Linked DNA regions of Homo sapiens: region 2 is linked to region 1. The links are contacts of gene promoters, found by promoter capture Hi-C in blood cells and fetal thymus (Javierre and others, 2016). All regions are on one chromosome and are shown on one strand. The core of a region is centred on a gene start or on the middle of the fragment in contact, and the rest is flanking DNA. Distances in the headings are between cores, read along the strand shown.

Evidence for each region. The method cuts DNA at HindIII sites, captures the fragments that hold promoters and counts their contacts. A CHiCAGO score of 5 or more calls a contact.
Region 2: a contact is called between a fragment that was not itself captured here and the fragment with the promoter of HMGXB4 in region 1, in 1 of 17 cell types (naive CD4 T cells). The highest score is 5.6, in naive CD4 T cells.

The regions. Positions count from the first base shown.
Region 1 is chr22:35,254,305-35,261,729 of GRCh38, reverse strand. It overlaps HMGXB4 (HMG-box containing 4), which reads right to left and starts at 4,237. Exons shown (of 11, transcript NM_001003681.3): 1 at 4,173-4,237. It overlaps LOC105373017 (a long non-coding RNA gene), which reads left to right and starts at 205. Exons shown (of 4, transcript XR_938210.3): 1 at 205-3,542; 2 at 4,469-4,517. RefSeq lists a silencer at 3,678-4,177 and an enhancer at 4,443-4,943. The HindIII fragment of the contact is 10,131 bases long and covers 1-4,417 here.
Region 2 is chr22:35,655,205-35,661,875 of GRCh38, reverse strand. APOL6 (apolipoprotein L6) reads right to left here. Exons shown (of 3, transcript NM_030641.4): 2 at 5,401-5,497; 3 at 1-3,261. The coding sequence starts at 5,450. The coding sequence ends at 2,280. Among named protein-coding and RNA genes, the nearest start is that of APOL6, 10 kb to the right of the region's middle. RefSeq lists an enhancer at 918-1,027. The HindIII fragment of the contact is 3,900 bases long and covers 893-4,792 here.

The DNA.
Region 1 (7,425 bases), core at 2,988-5,487:
TACACTCCTTACATCAGTTGACCATATGACAGCTGTCACCACCACCAAGGCTTTCTTAAAGGCTAGGTGAAAATAGGGAGACATTTATCATTTGTCCACTGGTCATAAAACTTTTATGATTATTAAGACCTTCACTAATAAGAATTGCTATAATTTAAATGTTCTAGATATTGTATTTTTTATTGAATTTTTACAACCTTTTTTGGCATTTGAGTTTATATGTCCATTTTGACTTTGAAGATGACAATGCTATAAAATGCACTGTAAGGTAAAAGGATTTTTTTTTTTTTTTTTGAGATAGAGTCTTGCTCTGTTGCCCAGGCTGGAGTGCAGTGGCACGATATTGGTTCACTGCAACCTCCGCCTCCCGGGTTCAAGCGATTCTCCTGCCTCAGCCTCCCGAGTAGCTGAGATTACAGGCGCCTGCCACCGAGCCTGGCTAATTTTTGTATTTTTAGTAGAGATGGGTTTTCACTATCTTGGCCAGGCTGGTCTTGAACTCTTGACCTCGTGATCCACCCACCTCGGCCTCCCAAAGTGCTGGGATTACAGGCGTGAGCCACCGCGCCCAGCCAAGGTAAAGTTCTTTAAATGTTTTAAGAACAAGCAATTTCATAAGTCCTTCAGGAATTTTAAAATTACATATTAAATATTTTGGAAATGTTCTCATCCAATTAAGTCAGATGCTTACAAAGTTAATCTAATTGATCATTTATTTAAATTTAATTTTACCTTCATTATTATAAGGGTATTTAGAAATACTGAAGGACACTTAAATGACACATTACTAATTCCTTCAGGTAGCTGTGGACAATACTGAAGCATGGAACTTTTGTGAAAGAAAAGATGAATTTGATTAACAAGGGAGACTTTCATAAGAGTTACATTAAAAAGACTTATTTGCACAATCAGATAAAATACAATGTACATACAGGTAGGCCTAAATGGGAAAATGAAGCATTACCAAGAATGATTTATTAGATTAAGAAAAGAAACATAAAAAAGCATTTCTTCACTTCTCTGAGAAGTGAAATAAAGAATGGATTTGGTCAAAGTAAGAGAAGCTAGAGTAATGAAACTATATTAACTGGATTGTTTTAAAGTTCAATTGGAGAACTGCCTGTTCGAAGGGCCTTTTCATAGGAAACGAAGGGGACATAAGGTCAGGCCTCAGATAAAAATGTGAGGAGGCAAGATACATAATGTAGCCAGTTTTCCATGTTCCAGCATTTAAGGATGACACTTTCTCAGCGGAAACTACTGTCCTCCCCTTTCCACCCAAGTGGTGCTGACTCCAAAAGGGGTGCAGGTAGAAGGGAAATACAGGGAATTATATCAATTTATTTGAAAACAGCATATCCTCTCAATGGCACTAAAATACTGAGTTTATAAGAAAAATATATAGATTATATAGATTTTCATAGGCTGATAATGCCAAGAACCAATGGAGACCTCAAATTAAACACTTTCTGTGCATGAATTTTGGCAAAGAATATTTCAGAAATAATGGCAAAAAACTTAAATATTCAATGTCATAAATACAGTCATCAGTGTTTTGTCAACAACAAAATGCACTTGTATATGTAAGCAAAGGCTGGTCCTGAGACTTATAACAGGCCTTCCCTTTGGTAACATCAAAATCAACATAAAACAGAGTTGGGCAACCTAACAGAATAGAAATAAGTACCTCTGAAGACAGAAAGAAAGAAAGATGACTGTATCGTGGTCTCGTTACTGGCTGCTTTAAAAAACTAGTGGATTAAAAAGTTGTGAGAGGGAATAGAAAATTAGGAACTGCTTCTCAGAGGCACAGGCCAACCAAGAAAATGTGGTGTTGGCATTACATATATTAGGTCTACCACTGTTTAAATTTTCTTAAAAACACTGAAGAGCATTTTATAAATTACTGGATTAAATAACCTGAAGAAAAAAGAAGGAATGAGGCCTGAAGACACGTCCAATTCACTGAAGAACTGGGGCAGCCAAGAGCTTGAAAAACTAAAATTAAACACAACGGACTGTATCAGCCACAGCTTGGGCAGACCGATGGGCCCTGAATTTCTACGTTCTTTAAAATCAGGATATTATTGCAGCTCAGGGTTTAGTTTTGGAAAGATACCAGATAAATCTCAAGCAACAGTGTGAAAGAAAGGCAGAGTTCAGGCAACATTTATATAAGATCAGATGAACCCCTGATATTCCTTCCAGGTCTTGAATACAATCTGTGAAAATTCAGAGTTCAGGGGTAGAGAGTAGATTGTGAGGATTAATGAAAATGAATATTAGGTTTGATTTTCACATTAGAAAAGGGAGGTCATAATTACATTAAATGTTGGCAAATGTGAAACAGGTGTTAAAACCCAGTCTCAATTCAATAATTTGGGAGTTTATAAAATTCAATGTTGTCAACTCCAAGAGGCAAGAATAATTTTGTTTGTCTCAGTGTGCTAAGATATGACAACATAAGTAAAAGTTCACTATTTCATACTGTTGATACAAGTAAAAAACTGGTACCATAAAAATGTATACTTATGAAATGCACAAATTGTTAAATAGCTCTTCGGGGACTTTTCTTCAGGATATGAAAAAGGAGGGGGCAGAGTTGCTCTTTCCCTGGTAGATAAGCATACAAGTTATGTTCAGGCATAGGCCTTTGGGATGACCAAAGTAATCAGGAGGAAAAAGTCCTCAGATATAGCACTTTGTCATTTTGAAACTTCAAATTACAGTTAAAAAACAGGTTTCAGACTTTTTTTGAGGTAACTTGAGCTCCTGCAATCAACAACCTTCTTCACCCCATAATGTAAATGAGTATCGAAAAAAAGGAAACAAAGTAAGCCCCGTCACACGGACAGTAAGAGAAATTCTGAACTCCAGGTCTGTTCCAGGATGAGAGCCATGTCCAAGATTCTGCATTCTCTTCTTCCAACCACTCCTTTCAAGAACTCAAAATGCCAGTCAGTGCAGGTAAAGGAAGATGCACATCCGCCGGTTGCCAATTTCTGAAATTTTCTTGTTACTTCTACGATACAGACAAGTGATGCCTTCTCAACTTCGTCCAGGTTTCTTCCAATCTCCGAACACGGTGACTCCGAATCCTCTTGCCACTCCCTTCTCCAGGGACCTACCTAGGCAGCACTCCCAGCCCCTGCCAGCTCTGGAAGCTGCAGAGATCCCGACAGTCGGGGATGGGGATTGAATCCTCTCATTGCAGTGCAATTAAGCGGAACCACGACCACCGCACAGATTGGCTGACAACACACATTCCATAAGACCAGCAATCGAATTTTGAGAAGCCTTGTCCAATCAACAGGCTTTATTTGGGATTCAGTTTTTTACTTTGTTCTATTAGGAGGAAATATAATCAGCCACCAGCTTAGCCCTCCAAAAGAGGGGACAGAGATGTTTCTCCGCTTTTGCACGCTATAAAGTGAATCTACAAGTAGTAGTTGGTGGAGGGAAAATGGGCCTGCATGGAGAAGGCGCCCACCACGAAGGCACGGCCAAGCCGGGTTGCACGCAAGAAACACACAAAATACCAGGTGATTTACACAAACAGCCCCCAGGACCACCATTTTTGTGGTCCCCAAGGCAAACCAGTGGGATTCTCCCGGCAGTTTTGCGGCAACAGCTAGCTCAACAAAGCTCTGTGAAGAGGAAAAGAAGAAAGCTCCTCGTACTTTCTCCTGCCAGCCGCAGCCCCAGCCCTCCCGTGGCCGCGGCCACGAGCCCTTTCCCCCTGACAGCCCGAGGGACCCCCGCATCGCGGGTTCCGAGCCGCACAGCTCGACCTGAACCCGGGTTCCCGCGTCTCCGGCGGCCTCACGGCGCCCCCGAGGGCGGAGACGGCCCGGGCAGGGGGAGGGGCGGCCCGGGTCCGCAGGCCCCCGGGGCGGCCGCACGCCCCCTCCCGGCCCCGCAGCTTTCCCGCCTTCCCCGTTTGAACAGCTCCCGCCCGCCCTCCTCCTTCTGCCCGCTCCAGCCCCTTCCTGGGGGCGGCTGCGGCCGCTACTCCAGTCCCCGGCTCGGCCCCTGGGCTAGGCCGCGAAGGGCCTGGGGCACCCCAGAGGTGATGTCGCGGGCCCAGGGCGGCGGGTGGCGACGGGGCGGGGCTGCTGCCGCCTCAGGGTGGGGGCCCAGCCCGGTCTCCTGGGGTCTCCGCTCGCCGCTACCTTCACTCGGCTCGCCCGGATCCCGCCTCAACGCCGCCGATCGCCGCCATCTTGGAGAAGGAGAGAAAAGCGCGAGCGGCCAGGGAGCCTCAGTCGAGCCCAGAGCGCAGACTCGGGCTCCGGAGGGGGAATCCCGCTCGACCAAGAGCGCCGAGCGCATCGAATAAAACTCGGAGCCTGCTGAGCGCGGGAGCTGGCACTTATTTATTGAGAATTTGCTATGTCCCAGCCTTGCCCTAGAAGCTTACAAACATTATTTCACTTAATCCTCACTGTATTCCTGTCGCATTTTGCAGAAGAGAACCAGGCTGAGAGAAGTTAAGTGACGTGCCCAAGGATACACAGGTAGTTGGAATGTGAGACCGAGTATTACTCCAAGTCTTCTGATTCTGAATGCAGTGCTTTCCCCAAAATACTATGCTGTTTCTTTCAAGATATTGTTATACAGCAGTTCTCCTCTTTGCAACACCTAGATCTATGCAGATTAATAGCAGTGTGCTTATTTGGACTTCAGCATCTACATTTGAACATTTGGCATATTAGGGGTGAGGTGAAGAACTTATCTTTGTAACAATGTACAGTAAAATAATTTGCATGGCGAATCATCTACATTTTTTAGTTAGAAACAGTCTTCAGAGAGAGAGAGGAAGAGATGTCATATACAGGCGAGAACACAATTTTTCTGATTTGCCATTGAGAACTTCGACCAATGAGTAGAAATTACAGTGTATAGAACTTGGTTTGATATGAAGAAGAACGCCAGGGGCGGTGGCTCACGCCTGTAATCCCAGCACTTTGGGAGGCTGAGGTGGGTGGATCACCTGAGGTCAGGAGTTCGAGACCAGCCTGACCAATGTGGTGAAACCCCGTCTCTACTAAAAATACAAAAAATTAGCCAGGCGTGGTGGCGCGTGCCTGTAATCCCAGCTACTTAGGAGGCTGAGGCAGGAGAATCGCTTGAACCCGGGAGGCGGAGATTGCAGTGAGCCGAGATTGCGCCACTGCACTCCAGCCTGGGGGACAGAGTGAGACTCCATCTCAAAAAATATATATATATATGAAGAATAACTTATTTTTCTAGTACAGTTCAGTAGTACAATGGGCTTCCTTGTGAGTAGTGAGCTCCCTCCCACTGGAGGAGCGCTCAAGCAGAAGCTGGTGTTACTGTAAAGCAGAGAAGTTAGAGATGTAGATTGGCTTCTAGAGTTGTGAACCCCATGCAACGTAAAATCATGTGTGCAGTGTGTGTTTTCCTAGGGCCCAGGCCCCATAAAAAATTAAGAACCTCTGTCCTAGTGTATTTTCCATTGCAGAGTTGGGTGAGTGCTTGAAGACGAGGTAGTCATGAGACCAATAAAAGCAAGGTGATTTGTCTGAGACCACACTCTAATCAGTGATCAGATAAAGATGAAAAGCCAGATTGTTAGACTCTGGTTCAGTGCTCTTTTTGCTATATCATGCTCTCTCCCCCTCTGCACTGAGTAGAAGATTGATTCTGTTTCTTACAACTGTGAGATGCTGAGATGTTAAAACACCTGAGATAAAGTTGCTGAAATCATTTGCAAAATGTAACTGCAAATACTTAATAAAAGTAGCATGGCCTTTTTCTCCGCAGCTCCCATCCTACTCACCAAAAAGACAGGCAATGAGTTTCACCAAAAGGTGTTAGATTGCATTTCTGGGACACCCTGCCTGACGTTAGGCTTCCCTTTGAGGCATTTAAGAGCCCTAATGATGTATTTCCTTTTTGTTCTTCAGAGCCCTAAATCCATTGGTCAGGATGATTTCAGTTGTGACAGAAACCCATTTCCATGTGTTTCCCCAGAAGAGGGGAATTTATTGGCTCACATGATTGAAATTTCCAGTACCTGCAGACATGGTCACTTCCAGGGAGGTAACTCAAGCTGGTCCTTTGACGTGTCTGTGGTGCTCTCCTCTGTTAGCTTTATTCTCAGATTCAGGTGATGACTCCAGCAGCTCCAAGCTTCATCATCTTTCCTGCTAGCAGTGTCCCTGTGGAGGGAGGTTTTGTTTGTTTGTTTTGAGACAGGGTCTTTCTCTGTCACCCAGGCTGGAGTGCAGTGGCACGATCACAGCTCACTGCAGCTTCGACCCCCTGAGTTCAAGCAATCCTCCCACCTCAGCCCCCCAAGTAGCTGGGACCACAGGTGCATGCCACCATGCCCAGGTACTTTTTGTATTTTTTGTAGAGATGGGTTTTTTTTGTTGTTTTTTTTTTACCATGTTGCCCAGGCTGGTCTCAAGCTCCTGGACTCAAGCAATCCTCCTGCCTTGGCCTCCCAGAGTGCTGGGATTACAGATGTGAGCCACCATGCCTGGCCCTGGAAGGAGTTTCTTTTTCCCTTTTGCTTTGGCAAAAGTCATGGGATTGATTCTTATTGCCTGAATTAGATCATGTGTCCAGACAAAAAGCAATCACTATGAGTAAAGGTGTGGAGTCTGCTGCTGCTGCTGATTGGTTAAATTAGGTCATCTGCTTACCTCCAAAATTAGGTTGGGGTAGACACAAAGAAAATCAAGGGTTGCTGTCAGAAGGGTGAGTGCATGTTAGGTAGGCAAAAACAGTAGCTGTCCCCACACTCTACCACTAGCTTGGACCTAAAAGCCTTATGAGTCCTATTGGTCCCATTTCTTCTTTTAGTCCACCTGAAGATGGAGCATATCAAGTTCTTGCTCATTTTAAGCTCCTGGAGACCTGAAGTCAGATCTCTCCTCAGCCTACTCACTCAATCACAAAATGCTATTAACTTGCTCCCAGTCTTGGATCATTGCACTTCCATTTATTAAACAGATATTTATTGAAAACACAGCATGTGGCAGGTACTGTCTTAAGTGTTGGGAATAGAACAGTGAACAGAATTGAGAGTCCTTGGCCCCCAGGAGCTTACATTCCGGTTGGGTTGGGGGACACAAAATTAAGATATGAATACTACATTCAGTGATAATCAGAGGTGGAGAAAATAATGCCAGGTTGGCTACGAGAGTACCAGCAGGGGATGTGGGTAGGAACAGCTTGTTCTTTAAAACAGTAATCAGGGAGGCTTCTCTGTTGAGGTGCACACCGGAGCTAGCTCAGCCAGAAGTGGGTTGGTGGTGGGAGCCAGGAGATCATAGTTCCTTGAATGTATTCAAGTGCTTCCTCTGTACCTTGCTGGAAAAGTATTCTTTGCTGACTATCTTTCATAGTTCTCTTGCATTTTTGAAACTTGGAAAGACAGAAAAGAGGACCCTC
Region 2 (6,671 bases), core at 1,593-4,092, 400 kb before region 1:
TTGCCTAATATACTGAAGGAAGAAAATGTTTTAATATGCATTTTGTGTACCCTAAGTGTGCTGTGTTTATAAAGCCTACAGTAGTATACAGTAATGCCCTAGGCCTTCACATTCATTCACCACTCACTGACTCATCTGGAGCAACTCTCAGCCCTGCAAGCTCCATTCGTAGTAAGTGCCCTGTACAGGAGAGCCAATTCTTATCTTTTATGCCATATTTTTACTTTCCTTTTTCTCTGTTTACATATGTTTAGATACACAAATATTTCCCATTGTGCTGCAATTGCCTATAGTATTCAGTAGTCACATGCTGTACAGGTGCGTAGCCTGGGAGCAATAGGCTCTCCCATATAGCCTAGGTATGCAGTAGGCTATGCCATCTAAGTTTTGTATAAGTACAATCTGTGATAATCACACTACAATGCAATTGCCTAATGACACATTTATCAGAATGCGTCCCTGTCACCAAGAGATACATGACTGTATTCTTCTTCTTTTTTTTTTTTTTTTTTTTTTTTGAGATGGGGTCTCATTCTGACACCCAGACTGGAGTGCAGTGGCATGATCTTGGCTCACTGCAACCTTTACAGCCTGGGTTCAAGCGATTCTCCTGCCTCAGCCTCCCGAGTAGATAGGATTACAAGTGCCCTGCCACTACACCTGGCTAATTTTTGTATTTATAGTAGAGACAGGGTTTTGCCATGTTGGCCAGGCTGTTCTCAAACTCCTAACCTCAGGTGATCCAGCTTTATTAGTGTAATTACACTTTATCAGTGTAATAAGGCAAACTTTGCTCACCACAGACTTCCTCCCCCTACCCCCTCCCACAGCCTGTGTCACTACCTCCCCATCAGAGGCCTCACTTCCTGTAGCTTGGGGTGTTATTTAAGCTTCTGCCATCTGGCCCACATTAAAAAATGTATATGCTTTTTCTCCTGTTAATCTGTCTATTGTCAGCTTGTTTTATAGATTCAAATTCTTAAACCTTCAAGGTCTAGAAAGGAAGTTCCTTCTACCCCTCCAATAGTATAAAGAAGTGGAGCCTTTTGGTAGGTGATAGAGTCATGAGGGCCCTGCCTTTAGGCATAGAGTTAGTGCCTTTATAAAAGAGGCCCAGGGGGGCTTGTTTGCCCCTTCTGCCATGTGAGAACACAGCAAGACAGTGCCATCTGTGAAGCAGAGAGTGAGCCTTCACGAGATGTGGAATCTGCTGGTGCCTTGATTTTAGACTTCTCAGCCTCCAGAACTGTGGATCTCTGGATACATCTCTGTTGTTTGTAAATTACCCAGTCTAAGGTATTTTGTTATAGCAGCACAAACAGACTAAGACACTTGGCGAGTGACATAACCTGTCTGGCTTAGTCATCTTTGGTTGCTATAACAAAATAGTAACAAACTACTATAGATTGAGTTGCTTACACCACAGAAATTTATTGTTTCACAGTTCTAGAGGCTGGAAGTCCCAGACTGACTGACTTATTCAGTTCCTGGTGAGGGCTCTCTTCTTCTGCCTTGCAGATGGCTGCCTTCTTGCTGCATCTGCAAATAGCCTTCCTTCAGTGTAGGTGTGCAGCAGGGGTGGGGAGGCCCTCTTGTATTTCCTCCTCCTCTTATAAAGAAGTCAATTCCATCGGGTTAGGACCTCACCCTATGGCCTCAGTCAACCCTAATTACCTCCCAAAGGGTCCATCTCTAAATACAGCCACATTTTGGTTTAGGACTTCAACATATGAATTGGGAGGAGGAGACAATTTAGTTCCTAACTCCGCCTGTGGCTCTGTGACCTCTTTGTTAAAACTGGGAAGACCCGGCTGGGCAGGGTAGCTCACGCTTGTAATCCCAGCATTTTGGGAGGCCAAGGTGGGTGGATCACTTGAGGTCAGGAATTCGAGACCAGCCTGGCCAAAATGGTGAAACCCTGTCTCTACAAAAAAATACCAAAATTAGCTGGGCGTGGTGGTGCGTGCCTGTAATCCCAGCTACTTGGGAGGCTGAGGCAGGAGACTTGCTTGCACTCAGGAGGCAGAGGTTGCAGTGAGCCGAGATTACGCCACTGCACTCCAGCCTGGGCAACAGAGACCCTGTCTCAAAACAAACAAACAAACAAACAAACAAACAAACAGGGAAGACCCTTTTCCCAGCACATAGGCCTTAAGGAGCATTGAAGGAGAAACAGAAGGCATGCCGAGGTCTGTCCAGGACAGGCACCCTCATCTCCAAGATGTACTTGATATTATTTGGACCTCCAAGGCCATTGTATGCCATGTCCTGAGGAACATTCATGTAAACTGTACATACACACAGACACACAGACACACACACAGCCACAGCCACATCCACACATGCTCCCTTAACTCCTTCCAGTAAGCCTCGGTTTCGCAGGTCCCAGTTAAATCCTTCCCCACCCCTCTGGCCCTTGACCTCACTTTCTGCTGCAAGCTCTTGTAGAGCTGGGTGAGTTCTGTGAGTTTCCTCTCCAGCTCCAAGGCCTTGGCTCTCAACTCTTCCGCAAACTTTGTCCTTGCTCCTTCCTTCAGGTGCTTCCATTCCTTTGAGAGAGTGGCCAAGTCATAGCCAAGGGAGAAGGCGGACATCACACCTCCCAGCACGCGAGCATTTTTGGTCATCGCCAGTGTTGTTCCCGCAAAGGCCTTTTGCACCTGCACGCGGCTCCGGGAGGAGACTTGGCCAGTGGTCAGAAGACGCTTGGTAGCATTGGCCAAGCGTGGGTTGGCTCTGAGTTTCCAAAATGCACGGACGTTTTTCTTGGCATACTTCAAGGTGTTTCTAAGATTATAGATAATCTTTCCAGCAGCTGTGACATAGTCTGCCTTCTCTTCCTCATCCTCCCTGTCCTCTTGGTCGTAGGTGGGCAGTATGTCTTCCGCCCGTGCTTGGGCTTCTTTATTTTTGGAGCGTTCCAACGTACCACTCACGATGCTGGTGACCCCAGCTGCTGTTGCCAAACCTTGACCAGCGGTGGAGAGCAGCAGGCTTCCTCCTCCTGTTGCTGGGGCAAGGGCTAAACCCAGGAGGCTCATCACTCCAGAGATGACAGCAGTAGAGGTGGCCACCATGTTAGCCTTGGTGAATTTCTTGTGGGTTTTGTCAATATCGTCTGCGAGGGCACGGAGCTTGTCAATGTTCCCTTTCAGATCTTCTTTCAATCTGGGAAATTCTCTCAAAAATATTTTTTCTTCGGGGGACAGATCTCCGTCTTGTAGCTCCACGTCTTCACACAGAGGAGCGTCATCCTCATCCCTGAGGAGAAATGAAATAAAGATTTTGCTTCAGCTTCCCAGATGGGAAAACCCATGTGGCTCTTGGATATTCTTGCCACTCTCAGCTTCGAATCCTCCCTGTACCTCCCTACAAAATCCCCTGAAAAGTCCTAGAGCATTGTAGAGTAGTTCAGCCTTCGCTGAAAACTACTGGTTCCATGGAAAAAAGAAACACATAAGAGGGGCATGTGGAAGGACAAATGTGAATCACCCCAGCCTTGGTCAAGGAATGGGGAAGGAAAATTAAGTCCTGAGGTATGTTTTCAGCCTTGTTCAGAGAAAGCACAGCACTGCTGCAGAGGAGGGGCAGTGGGGAAATGTTAAAACCCCACTCAAGATAAAGAACTTGGGAACAATGGCGGGAGAGTTCTGGGAAAAGTAGGAGAAAGAGAAGACAAGGTGGTGGGCAGGGGATGAGCGTCCCAGATGTGTAGAAGTGAGTAGGAGGGTGGAGGGGGCCATATTGCATCATACATCCTCCACTCTAATGACCTCGAATCTGGTTACTCTGGGGTGTGTCTTTGCTTCTATCAGGAGTTGCACATTGAGAGTTGAGATAAATTATTATTCATGTCCTGAATGCTCTCCTTGCTCTTGGTCAGCTTTACTTGACCCTTCAAGCAGATGGGATTAGTCCTTCATGGAAGAAGTTTGGGACAAAGAGACCTAGGCCCCTCTTCCTCCAACATTTTACAGGATGAAGTACGAAGGGATCTTTGCCAGGCCAGTTGGCTTTGACCTTCAAGGCAGAGCTGCATCAGGGTGAGAGCAAAGCCTGCTGCTTGGGGCATTTTCTCATGCAAGGTGCCATTTGTGCATTTCCTTCAGGGTGAGCCGAGGAGGCCTGGTGATAACAGATGCCCTGGCCCAAAGAAGAACATCAGAGCTGGAGGGAGGCCTGGAGAGGATCTGGGCCACCTCCTTTATGATTCAGTGGGGGGCCTCAAGCCCAGAGAGAAAAGAGGACACTCCCAAAGGAACATGCAAGGTAAAGATGGAGCATTGGGTGGGCTCTGAGTCCTAAACTTGGTGCTTTCTGCCTTTCCTCTCACCTGTCAGTTGATGTCAGGGCCTCCTCATTGAAGTATATGTATGTCCATAAATGTATTTATCTTTAAATCTCTCTTTCCACACACACACGCACACAATTCCTCAGTGGGAAAGATTAGAAACTAAATATACCATCGAGCATATGTTTTAAGTGTTAATGAATTAATAAATTTAGGCACAATTATCTATTAATCCACAGGTGTAAATCAGTTAACAGAGCAGAAGGTCACCAGGGCTTGCAATGGGGAAGGGGTGGGATGAAGGCAAGCGGGGTGGCCCTGACAAAGAACCCCAGACATAAAAGATGCCATAGGTTAGCCCACCCTGATCTCTGTGTTTCCTCAAGGTATGCTAGACAAAAAGAAACAGCAAATAGATATGTAGCTGCAAAGATCAACAACGCCACTGTGTATGAACTGTAAAGTTTTTGGTTTTAGCATGGTTGATAACTAACAGAAGCTTGACTTCATGTGTTTCTTAATTAAACCAAGCGTCTCACATGTGAACACCTCTGCTCCAGTGAATCCTGTATCAGCTGGTGATGTCTACTGGCATTGGATAACATTTCAGTCCAGTTCCATGACATATTACACATAGAGTTCGTCTAATTCACTCAGCAAATATTTGTTACTTGCACACATTGTGCAGGGGGCCGGTGGTGCTACGTCTGCTGATTTACAGACAACTGGGCTTAAATTCATTAATTTGTTAACACCAAATGGCTTCCTTCCTTGGTGATATATGAGCTGAAGAAATGGAGTTCCTGTCTTCAAGACAGTTGCAGAGATGAGGCCCCAGAGTGGAGCAATTTTTGTCTTTGGAGTCCTATTGCCCAAAGCCATGCGCCTGACTTAATCTTGACTTGCTCTCCAAAATATTTACTTTAGCTCCATGAAGTATTTTTTTCCCTAGGGGAACAGATTTTCATATGCATAATGGAGACCAGCGGTAAGATAAGGCCCACTTAACAGCTAATCCTATCAGAGCACATGTATTCCTTATCGTGAGGATGCCTGCAGCATTTCAACAGAATCAGCCCTCTCCCTGGGGACTACACCCTTTGGATTACCTTTGCAAACCAACACCAGCCTCACTTTCTCTCTCCGCCTGGTTGTCCATCAGCCTCTGTGGCAGCAAATCTGTGTCCCCAGGAGTCAAATGATTTTCTGGTCAGGAATGTAGAAAAACAACGTTACTGCACATATGATGAAACCTTATGAAATTCAGGTGTGGAGGGATTTTGGATTATGTACTATCAAAATAACAACCACATAGCATACTAAATATTTGCAAACTATTATTTGAAAATTGTATGTTGAGGTGTAGCTTACATACAATAAATGCATACAGTGAAATAGTCAGTTCAATACATTTTTACCTCTATATTGGAGGGTAGCAGTATACACCATCCCAAAATATGCCACTTTGGCATAAGGATTATTTTGAGCCAAATGTAATTGAGAAGAAGTGGGTACAAGAAAAGTTCTCCACCCTCCCTCTATTTGCCTAAAAGCAAGACATAAATTGACAAAGGTAAAGCTGTCCCTTGTCTCCTCACTAACAAGAAGGATAAAGTTTGATCACCAAAGATGACATTGACTTACTTTCCCACAAGTTGCTCCTGCTGGAGACTCAAAACCCTTTTCCATTGTCTTGCTACTTCTCTAAAAATGTACTGTTCATTGTTGGAGATGTATTGAAGCTGGAATTCAAAGCTACCTCTTTGAGAATTATTTAATCCCTGGATCTCTCCCATGTCCATATGAAATAGACATGTTAATACGCTTCTGCTTGGTTTTCTCTCGTTAATGTGTCTTGGGTTACAGGAGTCTGTTCCAGCTAAGAACTTATGAGGGTTGAGAAAAAAATTACTTTTCCTCCCATACATAGCCAAGGGCTGGTAACAACTCAAATACATCAATCAACAGAAGAATAAACAAACAAATTATAGTTTTTTTATATAGTTAAATATTACATAGCAATAACAATTTTGAAAACTACTGATACCCAAACAACATGGAATAATTTCACAGACATTATTATTGAGTGAAAGAAATCAAACAAATGGCTCCATTTATATGAAACTCAATAATATGCAAATGAATTGGTTGTAGAAGTCAGAATCGAGGTTTCTTCTCGGGTAGTGCGATTATTGACTGGGAGGAGGAAGTACAAGGAAATCTCCTTTTCTCCATCTTGACCTGGGTAAGTGATTCCTTAGATGGATATTATAAGAGAGGAAAAAATAATTTTCCCTCTGCCCTTCTAAGTTCTCAGCTAGGATCCTTGTAACCCAAGACAGATTCATAAGAGAAAAACAAACAGGAGTGGATTAATATG